Regions from separate parts of the Homo sapiens genome. Here region 2 is linked to region 1. The links are contacts of gene promoters, found by promoter capture Hi-C in human tissues and cell types (Jung and others, 2019). All regions are on one chromosome and are shown on one strand. The core of a region is centred on a gene start or on the middle of the fragment in contact, and the rest is flanking DNA. Distances in the headings are between cores, read along the strand shown. Region 1 holds the start of FGFR1 (fibroblast growth factor receptor 1). Region 2 overlaps NSD3 (nuclear receptor binding SET domain protein 3).

Evidence for each region. The method cuts DNA at HindIII sites, captures the fragments that hold promoters and counts their contacts. A contact is called where the count stands out against the background at its distance.
Region 2: a fragment that was not itself captured here is called in contact with the fragment with the promoter of FGFR1 in region 1 in 2 of the 25 tissues and cell types used here (aorta and pancreas).

The regions. Positions count from the first base shown.
Region 1 is chr8:38,466,840-38,470,936 of GRCh38, forward strand. FGFR1 (fibroblast growth factor receptor 1) reads right to left here and starts at 1,796. Exons shown (of 18, transcript NM_023110.3): 1 at 1,142-1,796. RefSeq lists silencers at 1,079-1,198, 1,209-1,338, 1,609-1,678 and enhancers at 1,536-2,522, 1,959-2,128. The HindIII fragment of the contact is 23,892 bases long and covers 1-4,097 here.
Region 2 is chr8:38,288,450-38,292,546 of GRCh38, forward strand. It overlaps NSD3 (nuclear receptor binding SET domain protein 3), which reads right to left. Exons shown (of 24, transcript NM_023034.2): 17 at 2,026-2,228; 18 at 944-1,056; 19 at 38-307. Among named protein-coding and RNA genes, the nearest start is that of PLPP5, 21 kb to the left of the region's middle. The HindIII fragment of the contact is 6,513 bases long and covers 1-4,097 here.

The sequences.
Region 1 (4,097 bases), core at 546-3,045:
TTTCAAAAGGGTTGATAGCTTCTGGGCTCAGAACAAGAAACAGGCTTCACACCCCACCCCCCCCCCACCACCACCAAAAAAGTGTCTGGCTGCCTCATAGGGGGTGTGTGTTCTATATGAACCCCCATCTACAAGGTCCATAAAATTCCTCCGCAAACATGGGTCGTAGCCTCACTTTTCTCCCAACCCCAAACATAACGGTAGGGGAAGCGAGGTGCAGAGGGGTCTGGGCCAGAGAAGCATACGCATCGCTGCCGAGTGAACCACACCGGACAAAAACCCTCATCCCTTCCCCCACCTCTAGGAACCAGATTGGGACCGAACGGTCCTTCCGCCCCCATCCCACACCTCGGCTTAACGACCGTGGGTTGTCCTCCCGTTCCCCAAACTTCCGACCCTTTCAGAGACCGTCCAAGTCATAAGATCACCCCTTCTGGAAAGGGGAGTCGTTTTTCGCTCTCAGCTCAAGCAGATTCAGCCATTTGGTGACGACACCTCCTTAAAACCTATTCCAAGAGAAGCTAACCTAGCCCTCCACGTCCTCCGCAGTTCATCTCCCACCCCATCCGACCCCAACCCGCACCCCAGGCTTTCCCGGGGGTGGAAAAGGACTTAGGAATGCCCCGGATTTTTAGCGTTGAGCCCAAAGCTACCTGCTGAATTGGGGGTGAATCCCCAAAAGGGGACCAAAAAGACATGGAGTGGAATGCAACACACACACATAACACACACAACGCATCCCACCTCGCCGCCCACTCCCGCCCTCCTCCCCAGTCCAGGAAACCGCGGGCCTCGCCGCCTTCGCCCCGGGCCTGTCCCTCCCGGGACTCACTGAGGAGCCGCCGCCGCCTCGCCAGCTCCCGAGCGCGAGTTGGAGGAAAAGTTGGGCGGCGGGAAGAGCGGCGGGACGAGCGCAGGGAGGGGGCGCAGGAGACGCGGACGGAGGGAAGGGAGGGGAGACCCAAGGGGCGCGGATCGCCCGGGAGGGAGCCAGGAGGTGAAAGGGGCGGGCGGCGAGCGGAGGGAGGCGCCGGCCCCGGCTGGGCTGCGGCGGGCAAAGCGCGCAGCCGGGAGGCTCCGGCGCCGGGGGCCGCTCGGGACGCCAAGCCCGCCCCAGATCCGGGGGCGCCGCGGCTCTTACCTCGCTCGGCGTGGAGGTTCCGCCTCGGGAGAGTCCGCCGTGGCTTGTGCGAGCGGGCGTGTGCCCGCGTCCCCGGCTCCGGCCCGCCGCCCCCGGGCTCTGTTCGGGTCCTGGCGGGGTCGCAAGAGCTCCGCGGCCGGCGCTCGACTCCCGGCGGCGCTCGGTGCTCGGCGCCTCCAGCCCGGGCGGGAACAATGGAGCCGGAGCTGGTGCCCCGGAGGCGGGGCGGGGGGAGGGCTCCCGTCCGCCACCCGGGGTCTCCAGACCTTGTGCCCCCCTCCTCCAGAACGCAGCGGCGGCGCCTCACTTTCCTTGCAGACCGGGCTCCATCGCCCTGCGGAGGCCCCGGCGCCGCGGCGTGCCCGACTGCAGCACGGGTACCGTGCGCCCTGCGGGGCGCCCCGAGCTCGGACCGGAGAAAAGTCCTTGGGTTCCGCGGCTTTTCAAGCAGCGGCGCGCTCGCGGCCGGGGAAGGCGAGGTCGCCGCAATGCGCTACGAGGGGTCTCGGTCCCGTCCGGACGTGGCCGCCCAGCTCCCGGCACACCCGGGTTCCTCCGCGCGCTGCGGCTGCACCGGCGTCCCGGCTCCCGCTAGCTGCCGCCCGCCGCCGAGGACGCCGCGCCTGTGGCCGCAAGAGCGCTCCGAGCGCTATGCGCCGGCGGGGCGCGAGGGCTCGCTCTCTCACTCCCACCCGCGCTGGTCCCTCCTCCGCCTCCGCCCCCTGCAGCTGCCTGCTGGGCCTTGTAGTTCCCCAGCCGCGGCCCCAAAGGACGGGGAGCGGGCCGAGCTGTCCGGCGCTCTGCCCTTCTCTTCCTACAGCCTGGTCTCCTTTGGCGTTTGCGCCCCTGCATCTGAGCACGTCCCAGAGGGCGCCGGAATGTCAGGCCCTAGACATAGCAGCGGTTTGGGGGCTAGGGGGCAGGTGAAGAGACGCCGCAGCCTTGAGGTTGTACCTGGTAGCGTGGGCTTTGGAGTCTGTGCGCCTTGGGGAAATGATTTTCGCGCTCTAAATCTCTGTTTTCCCATCTGTAAATGGGGGATAATAGTGCTTTTCACATAGAGTTGAGGCGTCAACGAGGGCCTAGCGCATAGTTAACACTTAGTAAATACAAGCCGGTTTTATTATAAGGTCAGCCCCTCCTCAAACCCTTCCCTTGGATTTCAGCTTTCCCCAGCCACATAATTTAGGTTTTGTGGTCCACCGGGAACTGGACCCTGTAAATTCTACAGCGATGCTGTTGGCTTCCAGAAGTCTCCAGCCTGCAGTGAATGTCTAGGAAGCAAAGAGTAAGCAGTGGGAGTTGAGGGGAGACGTGTGGTTGGTTTGGAAATTAATCACAGCCCACTCAGAACACCCTCCAGTACTGTGGAACACAGGAAAGTGGCTAAAATGCTTCCCCCTGAGTCTTCCCGCGAAGTGGTATAATGTAGTGGTTCCCTAATCCAGATGGACACGGGTCCTAGGGAACGTCTGAAAAATACAAGTTCATGGGCCTGCTCAGACATGAGGAATCACGCTGTCCCAGGAAGGAGCCAAGAGCCTTTATTTTTTCCAAGGCTCCTTGGGGCGTGTGATGTGAGCCCAGGCTGAGGCCACCATTGGGGTGGGAAGTAGGCAGCACTTGGTCTGAAGGATTCCTCCATTCTGTCCATCATTTATGAAGTTTGATGTAGGACAAATCATGCATCTGATAAAATCAAAACGGGGTATCTGTTGATACTCCTTCACAAGATGGTCATAAGAATCAAATAAAATAATAGCTCTCAGTGGACCAAAAATATTACACAAATGGAAGTCACTATGAAAGGTAGTGGCAGGGCCTGTTCCCTTACCATCACCCACCTCAACCCCGAAACTTGTAGAAGTTTGAATACTGAATGAGATCCCCCCACCCAACTCCTCACCCAACCCACCCACGCCTCCCTGGCTAATTTAAGAAAAGAGTTGGCCGGGTGCGGTGGCTTATGCCTGTAATCCCAGCACTTTGGGAGGCCGAGGCGGGTGGATCACGAGGTCGGGAGATCGAGACTATCCTTGCCAACAAGGTGAAACCCCGTCTCTACTAAAATACAAAAAAATTAGCCAGGCATGGTGGCGCTTGCCTGTAATCCCAGCTACTGGGGAGGCTGCGGCAGAGGAATCGCTTGAACCCGGGAGGCGGAGGTTGCAGTGAGCCGAGATTGTGCCACTGCACTCCAGCCTGGCAACAGAGCAAGACTCCGTCTCAAAAAAAAAAAGAAAAGAAAAGAAAAAATGGTCCTCGCGCTATTTTTCTAATCCACCAGTAGGTGACAGACTAGTGGCCAACACAGTGTTATTCACATAGTAGACACTCATGAAATCCCTTGACTGGCCAAAGAGCAAATATTCAATAAGTATTTGTTGAACAAATGAGTAAATAAACAACTAAATTACAGCTCACGCCTGTAATCCCAGCACTTTGGGTGGCCGAAGCGGGAGGATCACTTGAAGCCAGAAGTTCAAGACCAGCCTGGGAAACAAAGTGAGCCCTTGTCTCTACAAAATATTTTTAAAAATTAGCTGGAGGTGGAGGCTGAAGAAGGAGGATGGCTTGAGCCCAGGAGTTTGAGGCTGCAGTGAGCTATGATCCAGCCACTACACTCCAGCCTGGGCGACAGAGTAAGACCCTGTCTCAAAACAAAATAATACAAAACAAAAAATGAGAAACAAGAACTCATATCTTTGTTGAATAAATGAACTTCAGCCACTGTTTATAGGGTTTTCCCCTAAGAGCCACCATTTAACCTTTCAGCTCCTGGTCAAGCTTGGTTTATACTCCTATGTAAGCTGCCCACCCATTAGGCCTCCTGCATTTTAATTACTACACATCACACGCTTGTAAGAAGGCCATACTCACACCCTACCCCCAAGAGGCCTTCCCTGCCCATCCCAGCTTTGTCAGTCCCTGGACCCCCTGCTCACTTGCTGACTAT
Region 2 (4,097 bases), core at 1,138-3,637, 180 kb before region 1:
CTGGTCTCTTCCACCCCCCACCACCATCCCATGCTACCTTCTTAATGCTCCTTTTGGTCCTGAGGCCCCAGCCTCTCCGCTCCGTTTTGATGATCTCTGCATCAGGGTATAGTCTCTTTGTAAAGCACTGGTTCTGACAACGATCTCCAGCTGGGCACACCTGCGGGTGGCATTCATACTGCAACATTCTGTTCAGGCACTCCGATTCCAAGCCACAAGGGTTTTCATCAGCTGGCTTGCAGTTACAGCGGGGAATCTCTGACAGGTCAGCAACCTGGATCTGCACCTTTCCTATTACTTTGTTAGCCTAGAAAACAAAATCGCAAGCGAGAGAGAGGCAGCAGGTAAGTCATCTGGCAATGTGAACAGGAACATCTAAAACATCCACGCTACTGCCTCGTGGTGCTACTCCGAGAAAGGTTGTCTTTCCTGATGAATAAGCTGAGATTAATAACCATCTCTTTTGTCATTTAGTTGACAAAAATATCAAAGCCTCATGTGAATTTTCACTTATTTATCCTGGGTATTTCTACTTTCACTAGATGGAAATTTCATAACTGAAAACAAGAGAAAATACGCTTGTTTGTGGGTTCTCTGAAATAAAGGGAGTAAACACCTATATTCTCATTTGGTGGCGGGATAACCTGGTAGAACAAGAACAGGATTTCACATAAGACATGTTGCTACTAGGTATGAGAGGACTTATCAAAGACCTAATTTTCACAGCACAATAACTATGGCTCCCATTTGATGCTTCCAACAGAAGCTCTGTTTTACAGAAGACTGTGATAATTAGCAAAAGTTTGCACAAGTCAAAGAGGGTCTTTAACTACTAAAGAGTAATGCATTTCGTCTCATCTATTAAATAACAATGCTTTCATAGTAAAGACTTACTTTGTTTCTTATTTTATTTGGCAATCCCAGGCCAGAGATAAAGACTTACTTTGATGTGTTTGTAGGGAGGGGGTTTTCTTGAGTTTTTTTCAATCTCTAGGGCTTCTTTACTTTCTCTTTGTGCTTTCAATTCCTGGAAACGTTTTGCAGCTTCTTCCAGTGCTGCCAATAAGATGATACAAAGTATGTAAATACCAAAAACCAAAGGAAAATTGATGGGATAGTAGTTTTACGCTGCCTTCCCAATGCTTTGCATCTGGCCTGAGATTTTTCTTTTTAGAATTATTTTCTGGAAGTTACTGTTTACCACCAGGATGGGGTAACAAAGAAATAGGATATAACTCACTGAACACTATGCTCTGTGCATGCTGTAGCCACAGGGAAGAGGCTCTACTTCAATGATCAGAAGTCTCCAAGTGACCCTAAGAGCAGCTTTTTGCCTTGTAATAGATTTAAATTCATTTTACCCTTACCAGAAAGCCAAACTTGCTGGCAACTCATTGCAAAAGCAGTTGTAAGGCTTTTCATGGCAAGTCTTTACTACTCTTCTGTTGCAAAGGAACTTCACTTGATTAAAAAGACTATTCTCAGGCTGGGCTTGGTGGCTCAGAGCTATAATCCCAACACTTTGGAAGGCTGAGGTGGGCAGATCGCTTGAACCCAGGAGTTCAAGACCAGCCTGGGCAACATGGTGAAACCCTATCTCTATAAAAAGTACAAAAATTAGCTGGGCATGATAGTGGGCACCTGTAGCCCCAGCTACTCGGGAGGCTGAGGCAAGAGGATCACTTGAGCCCTGGAGTTCAAGGCTGCAGTGAGCTGTGATCATGCCACTGCATTCTAGCCTGGGCAAGAGTGAGACCCTGTCTAAAAAAAAAAAAAAGACTATTCCTAGAATAATCTGTGTTTATAGAAAGACACTGAAGAAATTCCTTTCAAATACACAGCACAGTCTACAATATTGAAATGTATTTTAAACCTGGTTCTAATGTGACTGGAAGCTTATGGACACAGGATCATAATGTCTAGTGAAAATTCTCTAATACCAGAAATATTAGGGAGGTGAGGAGATGTTGAGAAACTGACACCGGAGTTGTAGTTTTGAGTCACTGTAAACATCATCCAGCTTACCCTTTTTGAAGGTCTTGTTAATACTAGTCTGCCCTTCAGCAAAGCTTTTGTCTCCTTCAACATAAGGGAACACTCTGCCCTGGTGTACCCAGTAGTAGTCATGAGAACCAAAGAAGAATACAGGGAAGTCCCCCAAGTCATGTTTAAGGCCCTGGATGTTCAGTGGCACAGACCTGGGGTTGCAGATCTCTGCTGGCCACCATCTGAAAACAAAAGCAATTTTAGATCAAGAGGGCAAAAACGAAACAAAAAACCACTATTTACAAGATTGGCAGAAGGGAAAAAAGTTTTTGTATTTTGCAATTTTCATTCAGATTCTAAGAACATAAAATACCACACATCATTATAAAAAGTAATTAATGAAATAGTGAACACAGACTAAACAAATTAGGCCCTAAACACCTGATCTACTTTCTTTTAAAAAATATTTCATATTTATAAAATATATATCATGAAAATGTTCTAAAATGTAATAATACTGAACCTACTACCCAATGATATTCCAAACCTAATTTCAATCCTAGAAAAGTCATGTTTCCCCCCAAACTTAATACTGAGATTATCTTTCAAGGTATAACAGTTTATTTCTAGTAGTCAATGGAATCATTTTGAGAATAAACTGATGCTATCATAAAGAATGGCCACTCCCATTCAAATCAGCATTTAGTCTCGAGTCAACCTGGGCAAACACCTCTTGGTCAAATGTACTAGGTTTTATATCACTTTGTATTTCAGAATCTAATTCATCTTAGATCATAATTAAACATGGAATAGTGGACAGAATGAAAATATAACTGTTTCAGGCTATGATAATTGAATACTACAGCAGTCACTAAATGAAACCATCTGTGAGGAAATCTGACAGTTTCTAGCAAGCAGACAAGTTAAGAATTGAATGATGAAGCTAACAGTCAGAAAATGAGGCCAACCTCATGGGCTTTTGTAGTAAATATACATAGACTTAAATTTTTTGAATCTCTTATTTTACATATGCTTAATAAAACAATTTTTAACACATAACTGTATTATTGAGAAGATAAATGATGACATGATTGCACTCCCAGATTTATATTGCAGAACTTGATAAAGTGTCACCTGAAAGGTACTCTGCTGTTCATCTAAGAATTGAAAACATGGGTAAGAATCCATGCGCAAATTGTAAACAAAACAAAAACCAATATTTTCTGTGATTGATACTTGGTTCGTTCTCAAAGCAGGCTCTATTTATTTCTAAACAACTTTAAGGTAATTAAATATGTATACAGTTACTGCCTTCACTAACGTCAGTTAGGAAGAGTCACATGTTCTGCCTGGGTTTGTTCCAGGTCCTCATATTTTCCCCCAAGAAGCAACACATTGGAATAACTAGTTATTGAAAATAAACAGCTTCATGCAGCCCCACTGGGCCTGACTGGAAAGAAATACATTAAGAATTAGTTCACGGATGGAAGTCTTTCCAAAACATACAAGAAGAATCTGACCTAGATATAAGATCTCACTGGACTGTGAATTTAATTGGAGCACTGTTTTGGGTTTCTTTAAAATGTAATATAATTAAAATTTAAGTGTTAAAATAAATCAAAGACATTTTTATATCCATAACTTTAAAAAAATTGAAGTTTATTTGAAGATCTGAAGGCTTCTTACATTGTTTTAGATATTTCTTATCTAGAAATGTCTTAAATGTATTAATTTTCAAACTGTGCACCCTTCTCCATGCCAGAAAGATACATATTTTTCAATTATGAAAGCAGTATGCACTTCTTCTAAAAATTAAAACAATGCAGAAATGTATAGTAGAAAAGTGAAAATGCCTCTTCTTGTAATCTCATCCTTGACACTATTAACATTAGATGTATTTCTTCCCAGGTATTAAAAACATACTGTATTGGCCAGGTGTGGTGGCTCAGGCCTGTAATCCCAGCACTTGGGGAGGTTGTGGCGGGCAGATCACTTGAAGTCAGGAGTTCAAGACCAGCCTGGCCAACATGGTGAAACCCCGTCTCTAATAAAAATACAAAGATTAGGCCAGGCACGGTGTCTCACGCCTGTAATCCCAGCACTTTGGGAGG